Regions from separate parts of the Homo sapiens genome. Here regions 2, 3 and 4 are each linked to region 1. Evidence: promoter capture Hi-C in 16 types of primary human blood cells and fetal thymus (Javierre and others, 2016). All regions are on one chromosome and are shown on one strand. The core of a region is centred on a gene start or on the middle of the fragment in contact, and the rest is flanking DNA. Distances in the headings are between cores, read along the strand shown. Region 1 holds the start of GHDC (GH3 domain containing). Region 2 overlaps ATP6V0A1 (ATPase H+ transporting V0 subunit a1). Region 3 overlaps ATP6V0A1 (ATPase H+ transporting V0 subunit a1). Region 4 holds the start of ACLY (ATP citrate lyase).

Evidence for each region. Contacts are between HindIII fragments. The CHiCAGO score rates a contact against its expected background, and 5 or more counts as called.
Region 2: a fragment that was not itself captured here is called in contact with the fragment with the promoter of GHDC in region 1 in 1 of 17 cell types (fetal thymus); the score reaches 5.3 in fetal thymus.
Region 3: a fragment that was not itself captured here is called in contact with the fragment with the promoter of GHDC in region 1 in 2 of 17 cell types (endothelial precursors and activated CD4 T cells); the score reaches 5.8 in endothelial precursors.
Region 4: a contact is called between the fragment with the promoter of ACLY here and the fragment with the promoter of GHDC in region 1, in 2 of 17 cell types (M0 macrophages and megakaryocytes). The highest score is 5.6, in M0 macrophages.

What each region holds. Positions count from the first base shown.
Region 1 is chr17:42,192,130-42,196,319 of GRCh38, reverse strand. GHDC (GH3 domain containing) reads left to right here and starts at 1,826. Exons shown (of 10, transcript NM_032484.5): 1 at 1,826-1,927; 2 at 2,470-2,553; 3 at 2,726-3,003; 4 at 3,293-3,414; 5 at 3,578-4,079. The coding sequence starts at 2,739. RefSeq lists enhancers at 1,684-1,913, 2,808-3,338. The HindIII fragment of the contact is 986 bases long and covers 1,588-2,573 here.
Region 2 is chr17:42,503,915-42,508,104 of GRCh38, reverse strand. ATP6V0A1 (ATPase H+ transporting V0 subunit a1) reads right to left here. Exons shown (of 22, transcript NM_001130021.3): 18 at 478-585. Among named protein-coding and RNA genes, the nearest start is that of MIR5010, 8.2 kb to the left of the region's middle. The HindIII fragment of the contact is 2,565 bases long and covers 1,117-3,681 here.
Region 3 is chr17:42,486,949-42,491,138 of GRCh38, reverse strand. ATP6V0A1 (ATPase H+ transporting V0 subunit a1) reads right to left here. Exons shown (of 22, transcript NM_001130021.3): 10 at 3,772-3,984; 11 at 502-652. Among named protein-coding and RNA genes, the nearest start is that of MIR548AT, 5.7 kb to the left of the region's middle. The HindIII fragment of the contact is 1,543 bases long and covers 1,435-2,977 here.
Region 4 is chr17:41,916,619-41,920,808 of GRCh38, reverse strand. ACLY (ATP citrate lyase) reads left to right here and starts at 1,858. Exons shown (of 29, transcript NM_001096.3): 1 at 1,858-1,929. RefSeq lists silencers at 1,476-1,735, 2,216-2,455. The HindIII fragment of the contact is 30,796 bases long and covers 1-4,190 here.

The DNA of each region.
Region 1 (4,190 bases), core at 577-3,076:
ACACACCAGCCTGGGCAACATAGGGAGCTCTCTCGTCTCTACAAAAAATAAAATTAGTTGAGCGTAGTGGTGCGTACCTGTAGTTCCAGTCCCTTGGGAGGCTGAGACAGGAGGATCTCTTGAGCCCAGGAGGTTGAGGTTGCAGTGAGCTATGATCGCACCACTGCACTCCAGCCTGGGCAATAGATCAAGACCCTGTCTCAAAAACAAAAAACAAAAAAAGAGAAGTTTGTAATTTTCCTTGGGATAAAGGCAACAGGCTAACACAGATGGTCACCCAGTAACCAGGTAAAGTTAAGATAAACTATATGTGACTGGCTGGGTGCAGTGGCTCAGGCCTGTAATCCCAGCACTTTGGGAGGCCGAGGCAGGTGGATCACTTGAGGTCAGGAGTTTGAGACCAGCCTGGCCAACATGGTGACATGGTGAAACCCCGTCTCTACTAAAAATACAAAAAATTAGCTGGGTGTGGTGATGCGTGCCTGTAATCCCAGCTACTCGGGAGGCTGAGGCAGGAGAATTGCTTGAATCTGGGAGGCGGAGGTTGCAGTGAGCTAAGATCGTGCCATTGCACTCCAGCCTGGGCAACAAGAATAGAACTCTGCCAAAAAAACAAAAAAAAAGAAGTTTGTAATTTTCCTTGGGATAAAGCCAGCAAGCTAACACAGATGTTCACCTAATAACCATGTAAAGTTAAGATAAACTATGTGACTGGCTGGGTGTGGTGGCTCACACCTGTAATCCCAGCACTTTGGGAGGCCAAGGAGGGTAGATCACTTGAGGTCAAGAGTTTGAGACCAGCCTGGCCAACATGGTGAAACCCCATCTCTACTGAAAATACAAAAATTAGCTGGGCGTGGTGGCACACACCTGTAATCCCAGCTGCTTGGGAGGCTGGGGCAGCAGAATCGCTTGAACCTGGGAAGTGGAGGTTGCAGTGAGCTGAGATTGTGCCACTGCACTCCAGCCTGGGCAACAGAGCAAGACTGTGTCTCAAAAAAAAAAAAAAAAAAAAAAGATAAACTATATGTGACAAGTCCTCTTACTTGAGGACTCGTTATTGTTTATCTTGAAAACGTGTATGTAATGGGTTGTATGCGCTTGGCTATACAAAAAAGTAAGATTTCCTCCCTTCTTTGCAAGCTCTTAGCAGATCACCTGTCATGTACATCACATTGTGGTTGAATGCTTATTCAATAATAAAATTGTTTTCTTTCTCAACTACCTTGAGGGAGAGGATGGGGTTTTTTTTGTTGTTGTTTTTGTTTTGTTTGTTTTTGAGACGGAGTTTCGCTCATTGCCCAGGCTGGAGTACAATGGCGCAATCTCAGCTCACTGCAACCTCCGCCTCCCAAGTTCAAGTGATTCTTCTGCCTCAGCCTCCCAAGTAGCTGGGATTACAGGCATGTGCCACCACATCTGGCTAATTTTGTATTTTTAGTAGAGATGGGGTTTCACCATGTTGGTCAGGCTGGTGTCAAACTCCTGACCTCAGATGATCCACCCGCCTCAGCCTCCCAAAGTGTTGGGAATACAGGCGTGAGCCACCGCGCCCAGCTGAGTTGGGGTTTTAAGAGTTCTTAAGCTTGCCCCTCTCCCAGCTCAAGTGGCTTAATGGCGTTCTTTCCCACACACACCTTTCTGTTCCTTCACCTGCGCAAGTTTGAGGACCATGCTAGTCTGGTCCTAACTGCCCCAACTGCCAGCCTGGGCTAGCACCCGACATGAAGTCCTGTAGGCGACCTGCCCCTTTAAGAGCACCCCCCTCCTTCAGCTCCTCCCTCAGGCCTGGTGGCCGGATTTCCCAGTTGGGGCCCAGCCTTTTAAAGCCATCGCTCCTTCTTTCTGGCCGGATGTGTGCTGAGACCCAGAGTCACCCAGGGGTCTCCGTCACGTGCCAGGAGTAGGCAGAAGTGGGCTGTGACAGGTGCATGTGGGCATGGACCCCACAGCCTGGGGCTCAGGAGGGACAAGGAGCTGGGACAGGGTGGATCCCGAGAGAAAGCAAAGCCACTCGGGAGTGGGCAAGAGATATCGTTACGCAGCTGCTGTGTGCCCGACCGACCCTGTCCGAAACCCTTCCTGTACCTTCCCTTCCTCTTCCTTCTTTTCTCCCTTTTTTTTCTTTTCTTTTTTTTTTTGACAGGGTCTCACTCTGTTGCCCAAGCTGGGGTGCAGTGGCACGATCTTGGCTCACTGTAGCCTTGACATCCTGGGCTCAAGGGATCCTCCCATCTCAGCCTCCCAAGTAGCTGCGACTATGGGTGTGACACCACGCTGGGCTAGTTTTTCAATTTTTTGTAGAGATGGAGTCTCCCTATGTTGCTCAGGCCGGTTGCAAACTCCTGGGCTCAAGTGATTCTCCTGCCTCAGCCTCCCAAAGTGCTGGGATTACAGATGATAGCCACCTCACCCGGCCCACCCCTACCTTCTGAAAGAGGCATTCTTATTCTTATTCCCATTTTGCAGATCAGGAAACAGAGCTCAGTGCAGCCCACTAAATTGCTCAGGGCCCTACAGCTAACAAGCGGCAGAGGCAGGATCTGCACTCAGGTCAGTGGGACTCCAAAGCTTTGATAGTCTCTCCTTTGCATCACCTGCCCCACAGGGTCCTGCCTTCTTCCCAATTTCATTTTTCCTCGGTTTTCCTGTATGCAGTAGAGCGTGGGAGGAGAAATGGATAATTGCTGCATGCCCCCATATCTCGGTTCCTTCCTCTTCCCAGGAGCTGCTTGGAGATGCTGCTGTGGCCACTGCTGCTGCTGCTGCTGCTGCTGCCAACATTGGCCCTGCTCAGGCAGCAGCGGTCCCAGGATGCCAGGCTGTCCTGGCTTGCTGGCCTCCAGCACCGAGTGGCATGGGGGGCCCTGGTCTGGGCAGCCACCTGGCAGCGGCGGAGGCTGGAGCAGAGCACGCTCCATGTGCACCAGAGCCAGCAGCAGGCCCTGAGGTGGTGTCTACAGGGAGCCCAGCGCCCCCACTGTTCCCTCAGAAGGAGCACAGGTGTGTTTCCCAGGGTCTGGGGAGGTGACCCAAAGAGAAAGAAACCCCACAGGACCGTCAGATTCCAGAGCCTGATGGCCCCCTTACCTCCTCCACTGCCAACGGAGTGGCCTGACCCAGAGACCCAGGACTGGCTTTCTTGTCCAAGATGAATTTCCCATGCTGGGTCCTTACATCCTCTCTACCCCAGGCCTATTCTCGGTTCCTCCCTCAAGGGTCTCACCAGTCTTGCCTGAAACTCTTGGGAAACTGGCTTCCTGAGGCGTTTCTGTTGTCATTGGGGCTATAGACATAAGCACCTTCCGGAATCATCTCCCTCTGACCAAGGCCAGCCAGACCCAGCAGGAAGACAGTGGAGAGCAGCCACTGCCCCCGACCTCAAACCAGGACCTTGGGGAGGCCTCTCTGCAGGTAATCTAGGATGGCCAGAGCCCAGTCCTGGCCACAGCCCAGTCCCACCAGAGACCTCTGACTTGCAGCCAAACCCTCCAGTCATGGTGGGCAAAGAACCCCCAAATGGGGGCTCTGGGTCTGGCTCTGACACCAGACCAACATTCTCTCTTTCCTCCTCCAGGCCACCTTGCTGGGTCTGGCAGCCCTAAACAAGGCCTACCCAGAAGTGCTGGCTCAGGGACGCACTGCCCGTGTGACGCTTACATCCCCTTGGCCCCGACCCCTGCCTTGGCCTGGGAATACCCTGGGCCAGGTGGGCACCCCTGGAACCAAGGACCCTAGGGCCCTGCTGCTGGACGCACTGAGGTCCCCAGGGCTGAGGGCACTGGAGGCTGGGACGGCTGTCGAACTTCTGGATGTTTTCTTGGGCCTGGAGACTGATGGTGAAGAGCTAGCTGGGGCGATAGCTGCCGGGAACCCTGGAGCGCCTCTCCGTGAACGGGCAGCTGAGCTCCGGGAGGCCCTAGAGCAGGGGCCACGGGGACTGGCCCTTCGGCTCTGGCCAAAGCTGCAGGTGGTGGTGACTCTGGATGCAGGAGGCCAGGCCGAGGCTGTGGCTGCCCTCGGGGCCTTGTGGTGCCAAGGACTAGCCTTCTTCTCTCCTGCTTATGCTGCCTCGGGAGGTCAGTGGGACTCAAGGGCAGTGAGGTGGGGGCAACGGTCAGTGGTCACATGACAAGCAGCCATGCATTGGGCCCTACATAATCATCTCATTTAATCCTCCCCAACAAGCT
Region 2 (4,190 bases), core at 1,150-3,649, 310 kb before region 1:
AAAAAAGCTCAAACAAAATATCTGCAGCAAGAACACATCAGTGGTGTAGGACTTCAAAAGTACCAGTGATTATAGCTGGTCAGTAATGTAATTGGAACGATCCTTGGAAGGGTCAATGGATGAAGAAGCTGTGCTTAGTGACCTGTGTTTCAGGTCATAAGAGCTGGGATGCTGAGGCCTGCTCTGCCTCAGGTGAGAGAGCAGTCAGTAATGGAGACCTGCGTGCAGAGCACTGCGGGCAAAATCTGGAATTCAAGATAGGAGCAAAACTGCTGCGGGCTCTGGGGGCAACAGCTGGAGCTTAGGGCAGGGCCCACTGGAAAAAGCTGTGGTGCCCTAAGAGGTCCAGAAGGCAGGCTGAATATTAATTAGTATTTTTATTTTTCAAGGAGAAGACTGGAGTGAGGCCTCTTAGGTACACAAGACTAGGGCTGACCCGAGGTGGAAGGAGAGAAAGCCCACACCACGGGATCTTACCTCGTCTGCGTCCTCTGAGTGGGTGGAGAGCTGGTCATGCTGAATAATCTCAGCATCCTCCTCTGTCGGTCCGTTGCCCACCCTGATCCCACCAAAGTTGAGAGTTCCCTACACAGATGAACAGAAAGAGTAGAATTTGCCTGGGCTTTAACATGACATTCTGTGAGGTGGGAAGGGCGATGGTTAGTAACACAAACCTCAGAAAAGCATATGTCTAACAACAAAAACAAAACCCACTGACTGAACGGCTAAGTAAAATCAAACAACTGTTCCACCCCAACCACCGCCTCCCCAGCCCCAGCCCAACCTACAATTACCACCTTACCCTGCTTCAGAGGAAATATGCAGTTCTGTCTGCTGTGCCAAGAGGCACCAGCCTCACCTGGGTCAACACTAATTGAGAATCCTGCTTGAATGAAAACCTTAATATGAACAGATTCTCACAACAAGTACAGCTCTATCTGTAAAGGCTGCAAGGGCCTAAGCTTTTCTGGCCCTAACGATTAGACTTTCTAAGAGGAAGGGGGGCCAAGTGACATTGTGATTGTACCCTAGTCTGATAAGCTTTTAACAGGAGCCCAAGAATTCCAGCAACTTCTTCCAGAAATGTACCATGTCTCTGCCCAGGAACAAAAAGCTTCCAAGGTCAGAGAAGGAAAAAAATGCTTAATGTACATTCACTTGTGGCTAGAGAATGCTGAGCTTAAAAAGATGAGTAGGGGCTCCTTTTCTTCAGCAGACAGCTCTGGAATGTTAGAACAATTCTTCCACAGGCACGTGGGCAGACGCTGATGGGGCATTTGCTTCTTCTGAGTTCACAAACACAGTCTTTTGTAGGGTCTCCAAAAGTAGATTTTAAAGTCAACTTGATTTGAAAAAACTTGAGTTTTTCCAAACCCAAAGCAAAAAAGACTCTTTGGGAAAAAAAACCAGGCAGAAATGAGTTAAGTCTCACAGATCCCAATTAGTGCTAACCTGCCACAGCGTGAAAAGGAATTTAAACAGCAGCCCCCAGAATCACTTCATATGGTTTCTGTCCAGGGGGCCAAACAAGGCAAGAGCTCAAGGGCAGCTCTCCTGCAACCTGGCCTTCGGGCAGCAGCATGAGTAGCGTGCAGGAGGCCTGCGCAGCTGCCCTGCGCTCCTCATCCTCAGCTCCACCTCCTGGTGTGCCATTTTTTGCCACAGCTCTCATCACAGTTTAATGCCCACCTCAGATCTAATTATTTGCACAAATCCTCCCTCCTACTCTAGCAGTGGTCCTTAACATGCTGGTCAGAGAACTAGTTGCATTAGAATTACCCCAAAAGCTGCATTTTAAATAGAAATTCTCAAATACTACTCCCAGAAATTGTAAATTTAGTAGTTCTGGGGTGGGGCCCAATAAATCTGTATTTTAAAAATATATTCCCAAGTACAAATTGTATAATCATTGTGAAGGGTTTATCAAAATTTTAAATGCATGAACCCTTTGAGATTCAGCAATCCCACTGCTGGAACATCTAGGCTTGCAAAACTTTGGCAAGGTATATGGATAAGGGGCTGGGCGCGGTGGCTCATGCCTGTAATCCTAGCATTTTGGAAGGCCGAGTCAGGCAGATCACCTGAGGTCAAAAGTTCGTGATCAGCCTGGCCAACATGGCGAAACCCCGTCTCTACTAAAAATACAAAAATTAGTTGGGCGTAGAGGTGGGCGCCTGTAATCCCAGCTACTCTGGAGGCTGAAGCAGGACAACTGCTGAAACCCGGGAGGTGATGGTTGCAGTGAGCTGAGATCATACCACTGCACTCCATCTTGGGCAACACAGCGAGACTCTGTCTCAAGAAAAAAAAAAAAAAAGACATATGAAAAAGGATGTTCCCTGAATTGCTGTTTGTGATAGCAAAGAATTGGGAACAACCAACACATCCATCAAAGAGATAATGACTTTGGCATGTCCAGTGGAATATTCTATGGAATGCTAGGCAACCATAAAAAAGAGTGATAGTCAGCTGGGCACAGTGGCTCACACCTGTAATCCCAGCACTTTGGGAGGCCACAGCGGGCAGATCACAAGGTCAGGAGTTCGAGACCAGCCCGGCCAACATGGTGAAACCCCGTCTCTCCTAAAAATCCAAAAATTAGTCCAGGCACAGTGGCTCACACCTGTAATCCCAGCACTTTGGGAGCCTGAGGCAGGTGGATCACGAGGTCAGGAGTTCAAGACCAGCCTGGCCAACATGGTGAGACCCTGTCTCTACTAAAAATACAAAAATTAGCCGGGGGAGGTGGTGGGTGCCTGTAATCCCAGCTACTCAGGAAGCTGAGGCAGGAGAATTGCTTGAACTGGGGAGGCGGAGGTTGTAGTGAGCCAAGATCGTGCCACTGCACTCTAGCCTGGGCGACAGGGCAAGACTCTATCTCAAAAACAAAACAAAACAAAAATTAGCCAGGCGTAGTGGTGCATGCCCATAATCCTAGCTACTCATGAGGCTGAGGCAGGAGAATTGCTTGAACCTGGGAGGTGGAGGTTGTAGTGAGCTGAGATCGTGCCACTGCACTACAGCTGGGTGACAGATCAAGACTTCATCTCAGAAAAAAAAAAAAAAAAGTGATTATCACTATGAAACAATCTTCAAGATACACTAACTTTTAAAAAACGTAATAGATCGAGAGGCAGAACAGTGCCACAGTTTAAAACACAATTCCTCATGTGTCTTTTTCTAGATGCATAGAGCACACACACACCTATCAATAGAAGACAGGCAGATATCTGTCAGAGGCAAGGCCCCCACCTGTTAACAATGCCCCCTGAAGAGGAGGACTGTAGTGGGGGCAGGTGGTTTTCTTCTTAGTTAGCACTATATGCATTCTCTAGCCAAGTGCACCTATTGCTTTATTTTTTTAATGTCAGTAGGGGATTGTCAGGACCATGAAATTATGGGCCACTTTTATTTCTTCTTCCACTTATTTGTTTTAATACCCTAAGAAACAAATTCAAAGTCTACCAGGTGACTGTGATGTGCAGTCAGACTTGTGGGCCACCAGAGCCTGGACACCTCCAGGTCATGCACATATTCCACCTGGCAACCCTCAGAAGGTGGACTGAAAATGCAACGAAGGGCACAGGAGGGGACTCCTGCATAACCTCGGCTGGGTTATAAGATATAGGAGGAAGGCTTCAAGGTTCAAGGCTCCCAAAGTAGAAGGCCATTTCTGAAGCTTTCTCCAACTAGCAGATAAACTGAGGAGCAGACAGGTTAAATCTCCCAGCCAGACACTAATAATGATCTCTTCAGAACACAGGAATGAGAGTTACAGGAAGGGGGATGAGAGACACATGTCAGCAGAAAAAAGAAAAGAAAAATTAAACTGTGATATATCACTCACAGACAACCAAGGGGACAAAGAACAGAACAAAACCAGATCACTGTTCATATCCTCAGCCCTCTGGGGTCAAAAATCCAGAGACTTTCTTGTAGACTGATCATCCTGATGCCTTCAGGCTGCTCTCCAGGAACAGATGTTTGGCTAAAGAACCAGTGGGGTAAGAAGACCCTATGAATGTGCAGGTTTCCAAACGGGGAACTTTTAACTTAGAATTTATCACAGAAGAAGTCGCAAGACTTAAATGCATTAAGATCTTGTCAGAAGCACATCTTATATATGCTAAGACTAGCAGAAAAAAGAGTATGTGTTAAGGACATTGACAATAGGTAGTATGTGTTCTAAA
Region 3 (4,190 bases), core at 957-3,456, 290 kb before region 1:
CAGGAGTCCAAGACTAGCTTGGGCAACATAACAAGACCCCGTCTCTAAAAAAAATTAAAAATTATCAGCCTGGGCAACATAGCAAAACCCATCTCTAAAAAAATTTTAAAAATTAGCCAGGCATGGTGACACATGCCTGTAGTCCCAGCTACTCCAGAGGTTCAGGCGGGAGAATCACTTGAGCCCACGAGGTTGAGGCTGCTGTAAGCCGTGATTTCACCATTGCACTACAGCCTAGGCAACAGAATGAGACCCAGTCAAAAAAAAATCATAAAATAAAAAATTAGCCAGGTGTGGTGCTGTGCGCCTGTGGTCCTAGCTATACAGGAGACTGAGTTGGGAGGATCTCTTGAGGCCAGGAGTTTGAGGCTGCAGTGAACTACAGTCGTGCTGCTGCACTCCAGCCTGGGTGACAGAGGGAGACTCTGTCTCAAAACAAACCAAACCAACCAAACAAACAAAAAAAACTCTAGAGGAAAAAGATAACAAGCTTTTTTTTACCTGGATTTATCTCTCGGTAAGTTCCAATTCCATAAGCATCTACTATGTTCTGAAAGCCATAGGTAAACTTGTTGGTTTTGTTATAGGTTGGGGGAGTCTGGTTTGTCTGCATCCTGTTCAAAATGGAAGGTACAGTGGAACCACTGTGTTCCTGAAAAACATTAGCACATTTATCAAACTTAGGTTATCCTCCTAATTGTGGTAGTGGTTACACAGGTGTACATTTCTTGAAACTCATCAAATGGTACACATAAAATGTATGTATTTTCTTTCATGTAAATTATATCTCAATAAAACTAATAAACCTAAAAATAAAACTAGATTATCTTTCCCAGCTTTTGGGAAAACTGGGAAAAGGTATAACATTTATAATGGAAGATTTCTATTAGATCCTCTGAAATACATCCTTAATGTGAAAAAAATTTAACTTTAAAATATGTCACCAAAGAAAATGTGGAACTGCCTCCATATCTGCCTTTTTATGAAAGTTGTTCTCCCCCTTTCATGGAGAAAGCAAAGTATGTTCTCTGGCTCTCCTTCTTCACTACCTTCTCTTAACTTCCTGATCCCTTGCAGTCTGGCTGAGCATGCTTAGGCAAAGTGACTGGCTCCTGACCAAAGAGCTTCTCTCCCCCATGCACGCCCCTGACATTGGAGATCTTTGGTGAAAATCCTTCTTCCTTAGGAGTTCTCCTCCTGCTCGCTGACCATTGCTTTTCTATCTTTGCTGGTTATTTCTGCTCTGCCTATCTCATAGCATTGCAAGACCCCAACCTTTTTTTTCTCTCTATGACCTCCCTCTTGGAGGTCTCATTCCCTTCCATTCTCATGACTCCCATTTCCTTAGCTTTGTTCCCTTGTCTGCTTGACATTTCCACATAGACCTCAATGTGCCCGGAACTGAACTTACCATCTCTCCCCAATCAATAAGCTTCTCTGGCTGAACATTTACTTCCCTCATTGGAACCCTAATTCTCCTGGCCAGTCAGCTTTGATGCCTCAAAAAGATGTTTAAATCTTTCTCCTTGTATTTCTCCTGCACCTTGCTAGGAACCAGGTAGCCCTATTGATTTTTCCTGCAGAACATCTCACAATTCATCATTTTTTTTCCCATTGTCAAGTCCTACCTGGGGATCCTTATCATTTACTACTCTATGTCTACAATAACCTCCTAACTGAACCCCTACCTACAGAATCTCTTCACTCCTCAATCCAACCTAGATACTATCAGCAGATTACTCTTTTAAAACTGCTTTGAGCCAGGAGAAGTGGCTCATGCCTGTAATCCCTGCACTTTGGGAGGCTGAGGCGGGTGGATCACCTGAGGTCAGGAGTTCGACACCAGCTTGGTCAACGTGATGAAACCCCGTCTCCACTAAAAATACAAAAAATTAGCTGGGTGTGGTGGCGCACACCTGTAATCCCAGCTACTCAGGAGGCTGAGGCAGGAGAATCACTTGAAGCAGGGAGGTGGAGGGTGGAGGTTGCAGTGAGCCGAGATCATGCCACTGCACTCCAGCCTGGGCAACAAGAGCAAAACTCCATCTCAAAAAAAAAAAAACCAAAAAACAAAAAAACTGCTTTGATCCACCAGGCGTGGTGACCCACTTTTTTTTTTTTTTTGAGACAGAGTCTCACTCTGCTGTCCAGGCTGGAGTGCAGTGGCATGATCTCAGCTCACTGCAACCTCTGCCTCCTGGGTTCAAGTGGTTCTCCTGCCTCAGCCTCCTGAGTAGCTGGGATCACAGGCACCCACCACCATACCTGGCTAACTTTTTTGTATTTTTAGTAGAGACGGGGTTTTGTCATGTTGGCCAGGCTGGTCTCAAACTCCTGACCTCAAGTGATGACCCGCCTCAACCTCCCAAAGTGCTGGATTACAAGAGTGAGTCACCACGCCTGGCCCCAACACTTTGGAAGGCCAAGGAAGGCAGATCACTCGAGCCCAGGAATTTGAGATCAGCCTGGGCAACATGGCAAAACCCTGTCTCTACAAAAAATTAGCCACGCATGATGGTGGGCACCTGTAGTCCCAGCTACCGGGAGTCTGAAGTGGGAGGATTGCTTAAGCCCAGGAGTTGGAAGCTGAAGTGAGCTGAGATGGCACCACTGCACTCCAGCCTGGGTAACAGAGCAAGATCTTGTCTCAAACACAAAATTAAAAATGTAAAAAACCACCCAAACTGCTTTGATCATGTTCCTTTACCCCTAAAGAACTTCCAATGTCTCTCAACTTCCTCTGGAATAAAATTTAAATCTTCTAAGCTATTATTTAAGAACCTTTCACAATTAAGTTCCAAACTACCTGATGCAGACAGGTACTTCTCTTCAGCTAACCCACTGTAAATCCTGTTCTTGTCCAAACATACATGGTCTAACCATACTTCCTGCCTTTGTTTTCTTCTCTTCATTCAGCAGTCTTACCAACAACTTATCATTCTTCAAAGACCTGATCAAATGCCACCTGCTTAAAGCTTTTTCCAACTCCATAGTTGGAACTCTCCTAATAAACTGTAAGATACTCGAGGGCATGTTTTATACATCTCTGTACTCCTCCAGGCACTTACAGCACTTCTGTGGACAGAGTAGTTGTTCTAATTAACTACTAAACAGAAACAGTCATATACAGAGAGGGCATCAGGAAACTGATGCCCTGGCCATGAACAACCCTGAAGAATCATGGGCATATGACCAAATTATTTCAGCTCTCTGAACTGCAGTCTCCACATATGCAAAATAAAGATATGCTATGCTACGCTATGATATACATATTATATGCCAGGCTATGTATGAAATGTGCTGTCAAGTTAAAAGACAAATAAATATATTGAAGAACTCTGAAGGTGAAATGCCATAAAAATGACATTAATGTTACTATTTATTTATTTTTTATTATTATTTTTTTTTTTTGAGACAGAGTCTCGCTCTGTTGCCCAGGCTGGAATGCAGTGGCGCAATCTCAGCTCACTGCAAGCTCCGCCTCCCAGGTTCACTTGATTCTTCTGCCTCAGTCTCCAGAGTAGCTGGGACTACAGGCGCCTGCCAACACGCCCGGCTAATTTTTTGTATTTTTTAGTAGAGACGGGGTTTCACCGTGTTAGCCAGGATGGTCTCGATCTCTTGACCTCATGATCTGCCCGCCTCGGCCTCCCAAAGTTCTGGGATTACAGGCATGAGCCACCGCGCCCGGCCAAAAATGACATTAATGTTACTATTGATGGGAACCTCTCTTCCGGGCCACGAGCTGCATTGTTAGCTTTGGGGACTCACCGTGCCCCTTCTGAGTGCAAACTGGATGGAGTCAAGGTCGGTGACAGGGCACCAGACCTCTGCAATCAAGCATTTCTGAGTCACATCTATGTTGCACAGGTTCAGGGTGTGATAGATGGCCTTCATCTTCCGCACTTTGATGAACCAGACACGGATGTTCTTAGCAGCTGCCTGCAGAACCCTCTGGCGGTGATCCTCCGTTTGATTCAGAACCTTTGGGGAGAAAAGGAACAAGCGAGGGATCCTTTTAACACCAGTTTTAGATCTCAGGGTATGAATGGCAAAGAGGCATAGCTTTCTGAAAAGAGTTGCCAGGGAATTGTCTTTTTCTTCCTCTGGCTAGAATGGTTTCTTTTTTCCAAATTACAAGAAATTAGAGTTCTAGTTACTAACATTCACTTTTATTTAGCTTCAACCTA
Region 4 (4,190 bases), core at 609-3,108, 280 kb after region 1:
GCTGGGATTACAGGCATGTGAATCACCACGCCCGGTCTTTTTATTTTTTGTAGAGATTTGATGGTGGTGGTGGGGGCTCTTACCATGTTACCCAGGCTGTACTTGAACTTCTGGGCTCTAGCAATCTGCCTGACTTGGCCTTCCAAAATTCTGGGATTACAGGCATGAGACAGCATGCCTTGCCTGGAGTGTATCTTTTTTTTTTTTTTTTTTTTTTTGAGATAGAATCCTTCTCTGTCACCCAGGTTGGAGTGCAGTGGTGCAATCTCACCTCACTGCAACCTCCACCTCCCGGGTTTAAGCGATTCTCATGCCTCAACCTCAAGAGTAGCTGGGATTTATAGGCGTGTGCCACCATGCCTGGCTAATTTTTGTATTTTTTGTAGAGATGGGGTTTTGCCTTGTTGGTCTTGAACTCCTGACCTCAAGTGATCCCCCACCTTGGCCTTCCAAAGTGCTGGGATTACAGGTGTGAGCCACCAAGACTGGCCACCCCCATTTTAGGACAAGAGAAGAGAGGTGATAAGGAACTGCTATTTCAAAAAGATGAATGGGAGGGAAGGGACCAGAAAGTGACATCATCAGGGAACACTTGATTCAGGCATGGGTAGCAAGTTCAGTTACCTTACTCCTGGCAGCAACAGGATTGGGGGAGGGGGTCTTGGAGAAGATTTTGTCTGCAAATGTCGCAACACTGTTGCAGTGTGAGTATGACCCAAAGTGCTTGGCAGGGGGACAGGCCTGCTGCTTCCCTGCATTCTGGGCTGACCTCTTCACCTGAGTCGGTCAGTGGACGCTTTTGGCCTCCTTCCTGGAGCTAGACAGCTGTTAGGCTTAGGGAGCAGCTCCGGACCTACAGGGTTGGGGTGCAGGTAGGGAGGGAGGCTGCAGCATGTCAGAGTGGTAAATACATGTCCTGATTTCCAGGACTGATTTCACATATTCTGCCCCACAAGTTCACCAGCACCTGTCAGATTGGATGTCCCAGTTTTTGGTTTGGAAAATTCGATCTGTCTCAGGTAATGGAGAAGGGGGAGACAGCAGTTCATTCATTCCAGTGTCTAAGCCTGTGGTTGGTGGGAACAAGAGACTGTCTGGGATGGCTCCAGCCCTTCGCTGGAATCTCGCATTGAATTCCTAGCTCCGCCCTGATCCGTGCTGAGGCGAGCAGGTGAGTGGGACGGACAGCGCTGTGCCTGCACCCTCCTAGCCCCACTTGCTTACCGCGGCCCCTGCCTTATCCCACACTGGGAAGTATGCTCTGTTAGCCTCGGCTCAGCCTTGCCTCATCGGCCCAGTGGGGAGAGTCCAGGGAGGAGAGAGGCTCCACGTGCTAAAGGAAAGCGGCCTGCCAGACACTGCTGCTTAAGGAGACTGTCTAAGCAATCGGATTCGGTGCGGCCGAGATGCAGACGTCCGTTTCTCCCAAGGGAAGGAGCAAGGGTACTCCAGGTCCCAAAGCTGCGTTACAGCCAGTTGGGCTAATCCTACCCGCCCCTCCCCCAACTCCCCGAGTGGCAATCTGTCCAGCCCCTCAAGCGATCAGGCCACAACCCCCAGCACCGCGCGTTCTCCTCCCAGCCTAGCCCGGCCCATCTCCCCACCCGGGGCCCCGCCCCGGCCCCGCAGGCTCCCAAGAGGCGGTGGATGGGCCAGCGGGACTACAAGTCCCAGCAGGCCCCGGGGCCCGCCCTCGTGGGGCGGAGCCAAGCCAGCAGCGAATTGGGAGGAGCCCTGGCGCTCAGGCTAGGGAACGCGTGTGGCCAATCGCGGGGCCGTTCTCGCCGCGAGCCGATGGGGGCGGGGAAAAGTCCGGCTGGGCCGGGACAAAAGCCGGATCCCGGGAAGCTACCGGCTGCTGGGGTGCTCCGGATTTTGCGGGGTTCGTCGGGCCTGTGGAAGAAGCGCCGCGCACGGACTTCGGCAGAGGTGAGCACGGGAGGCTGTTTTCGCTGGCTGGAGCCCGCTCGCCCTAGGAGCTTCCTGCCTCCGTCCCCCAACCCGGAACCGCCTTCCCCGACGCGGGCTCGGTGCCCACGCGCCCTGCTCGGAAGTTTTGAGGGTCTTAGCTTTAGGTTAGCCTTCGCCCGGGGTCCCGGCCGGTGGCCGCGTGTCGACGCCCCTCCCCTCCCCCCGCGCGACACACACATATTCCAGTTCCTGGGAGTTTGCATGGGGCTTGCCGCCATCCTTGCCTCTTCTGCCTCTGCCACATTGCATGGTCCCCCTCCTGGCGCGCCTCACCCCTCCCGGGCACAGCTATCGAGGCTCCTCGGGCTCATCGGGACGCCTTTTGGCTCCATCCGGGTTCCCCCATCGGATGCCGGGACGGGAAGTAGAGAAAGCGGTGGCGACTGGTCCCACTCCGATTCCTCACTGGCCGGGCTCAGGCCCTTCTTGGTTCCGTGGGTACAAAATTGAGCTCCACGCCCAAGTGGAGAGAATGAGCTATGCGCGCCTCCGGGGCGGGCCACGCGGGGCCAGGCTGCCCCAGGGTGCCCGAGGCCTCGCCTCGTCTCGCCGCGAGGACTGGAATCTCGCAGCAAGGACCCTCCTCGCACTGGAGGTATCGTCGAGTCCAGCCCCTAAGTGACAGATGGCCGGGGTGCCACCCCACCCTTGAGCTGACGCCAAGTCTGGCCGGGGAAAGGTCCTCAAGGGGCTGGAGGATGCTGCCGCCGCCCTCCTGTCGAGCCTGGCAATGGGCCAGTCCCAGCGCCTGCCGCGGTCTCCAACCTTGGCAGATACCGTGCAGTGCCGAGTTCTGCCGTTATGGGGTCCCTGGAGGTCTTCCTGGGAAGAGGATTTTGGAAGAGACGATAAGGAAAAGTGCACAGCACAGTTTGGCCAGCTAGCCTACTCCTCTCCACCCTTAACTTTCCTCTGTGTTTTCAGCTGGCTCAGCTGAACTAAAATGTGGGGTGAGGGACAGCTGGTAGGTCTCATTTGCCCAGATGGGTGATTTTCACCTCTTAGAAACCTTCCTAAACAGCTTGGGGGGCGGTAGTGGGAAGACCCCTCAGACACTGGACAGCTTATGGCTCCATCCCCGTTCTGACACTATGCCTGCCGCAGTAAGGGGCACTCACAGAATTCTGCCTCTCTAGAATTTACTCCAGGGATTGCCTGTCTTCTCAAAAAATAAATAAATAAATACCTACATACGTAAGTCCCAATCCTGCAGATACTAACCTTCAAATGAGTGTTTTTGTCTTTCCCAGAGGCACCCTTAGTAGCATCCCCAGTGATTCCCTTCCCCTGGCTGTGTCCCAGGGGCGTGTTCTGGGGAACAGGCTTCTTTCATTCAGCCTCCTGTGTGGGCTGCTTCTCTCAGTGTCTGCTAAAAGTGAACTCAATCCTGGGTCACTCACCCGTCTGCAGAAAGACTCCATTCAGCTCATAAGGCCCCTCCCTTAGAGAATGTGTGTATGTGTGTGTTTTCAGGTTCCTTGGCATGATTTCCCCCAAATGGTTTACACATTTAGCTGTTACCAAGTAACAGTTCCTGGAGTCCAAGCTCAGCCCAATCATCTGTTACTTGTTTGACAGCACATTCAGCTACTGGGGAGGCAGACTAAGACGTTCTGGGGAGCGGTCCCAAACCCAGATAGGTATTTGTAGGTATTTGCTGATTCCACTAGAGCAAATATTCTTTTTTTTTTTTTTTTTTTTTTGAGACAGAGTCTTGCTCTGTCGGCAGGCTGGAGTGCAGTGGTGGATCTCGGTTCACTGCAACCTCCGCCTCCTGGGTTCTAGCGATTCTCCTGCCTCAGCCTCCCCAGTAGCTACAGGTGTGCACCACCACGCCCGGCTAATTTTTGTATTTTTAGTAGAAACAGGGTTTCACCATATTGGCCAGGCTGGTCTCAAACTCCTGACCTCGTGATTTGCCCTCCTTGGCCTCCCGAAGTGCTGGGATTACAGGCGCAAGCCACCGTGCCTGGCCGCAAATGTTCTTAACTGGTGGTCAGTCTGTGGGCCATCGGATCATTGTCACAGGTGAGCACCTTGAAACAATATGCACAATTGGATTTGTGTACCTTTTTCTGGGGTTTTTTTCAGTCTCAGAAGAGTCTGAGGCCTCAAAGAGGTTAAGAGCCACTGCCTTAGAGAGACTTTAAGACCTCACTGAAGGCCGGGCGTGGTGGCTCATGCCTGTAAATCCCAGCACTTTGGGAGGCTGAGGTGGG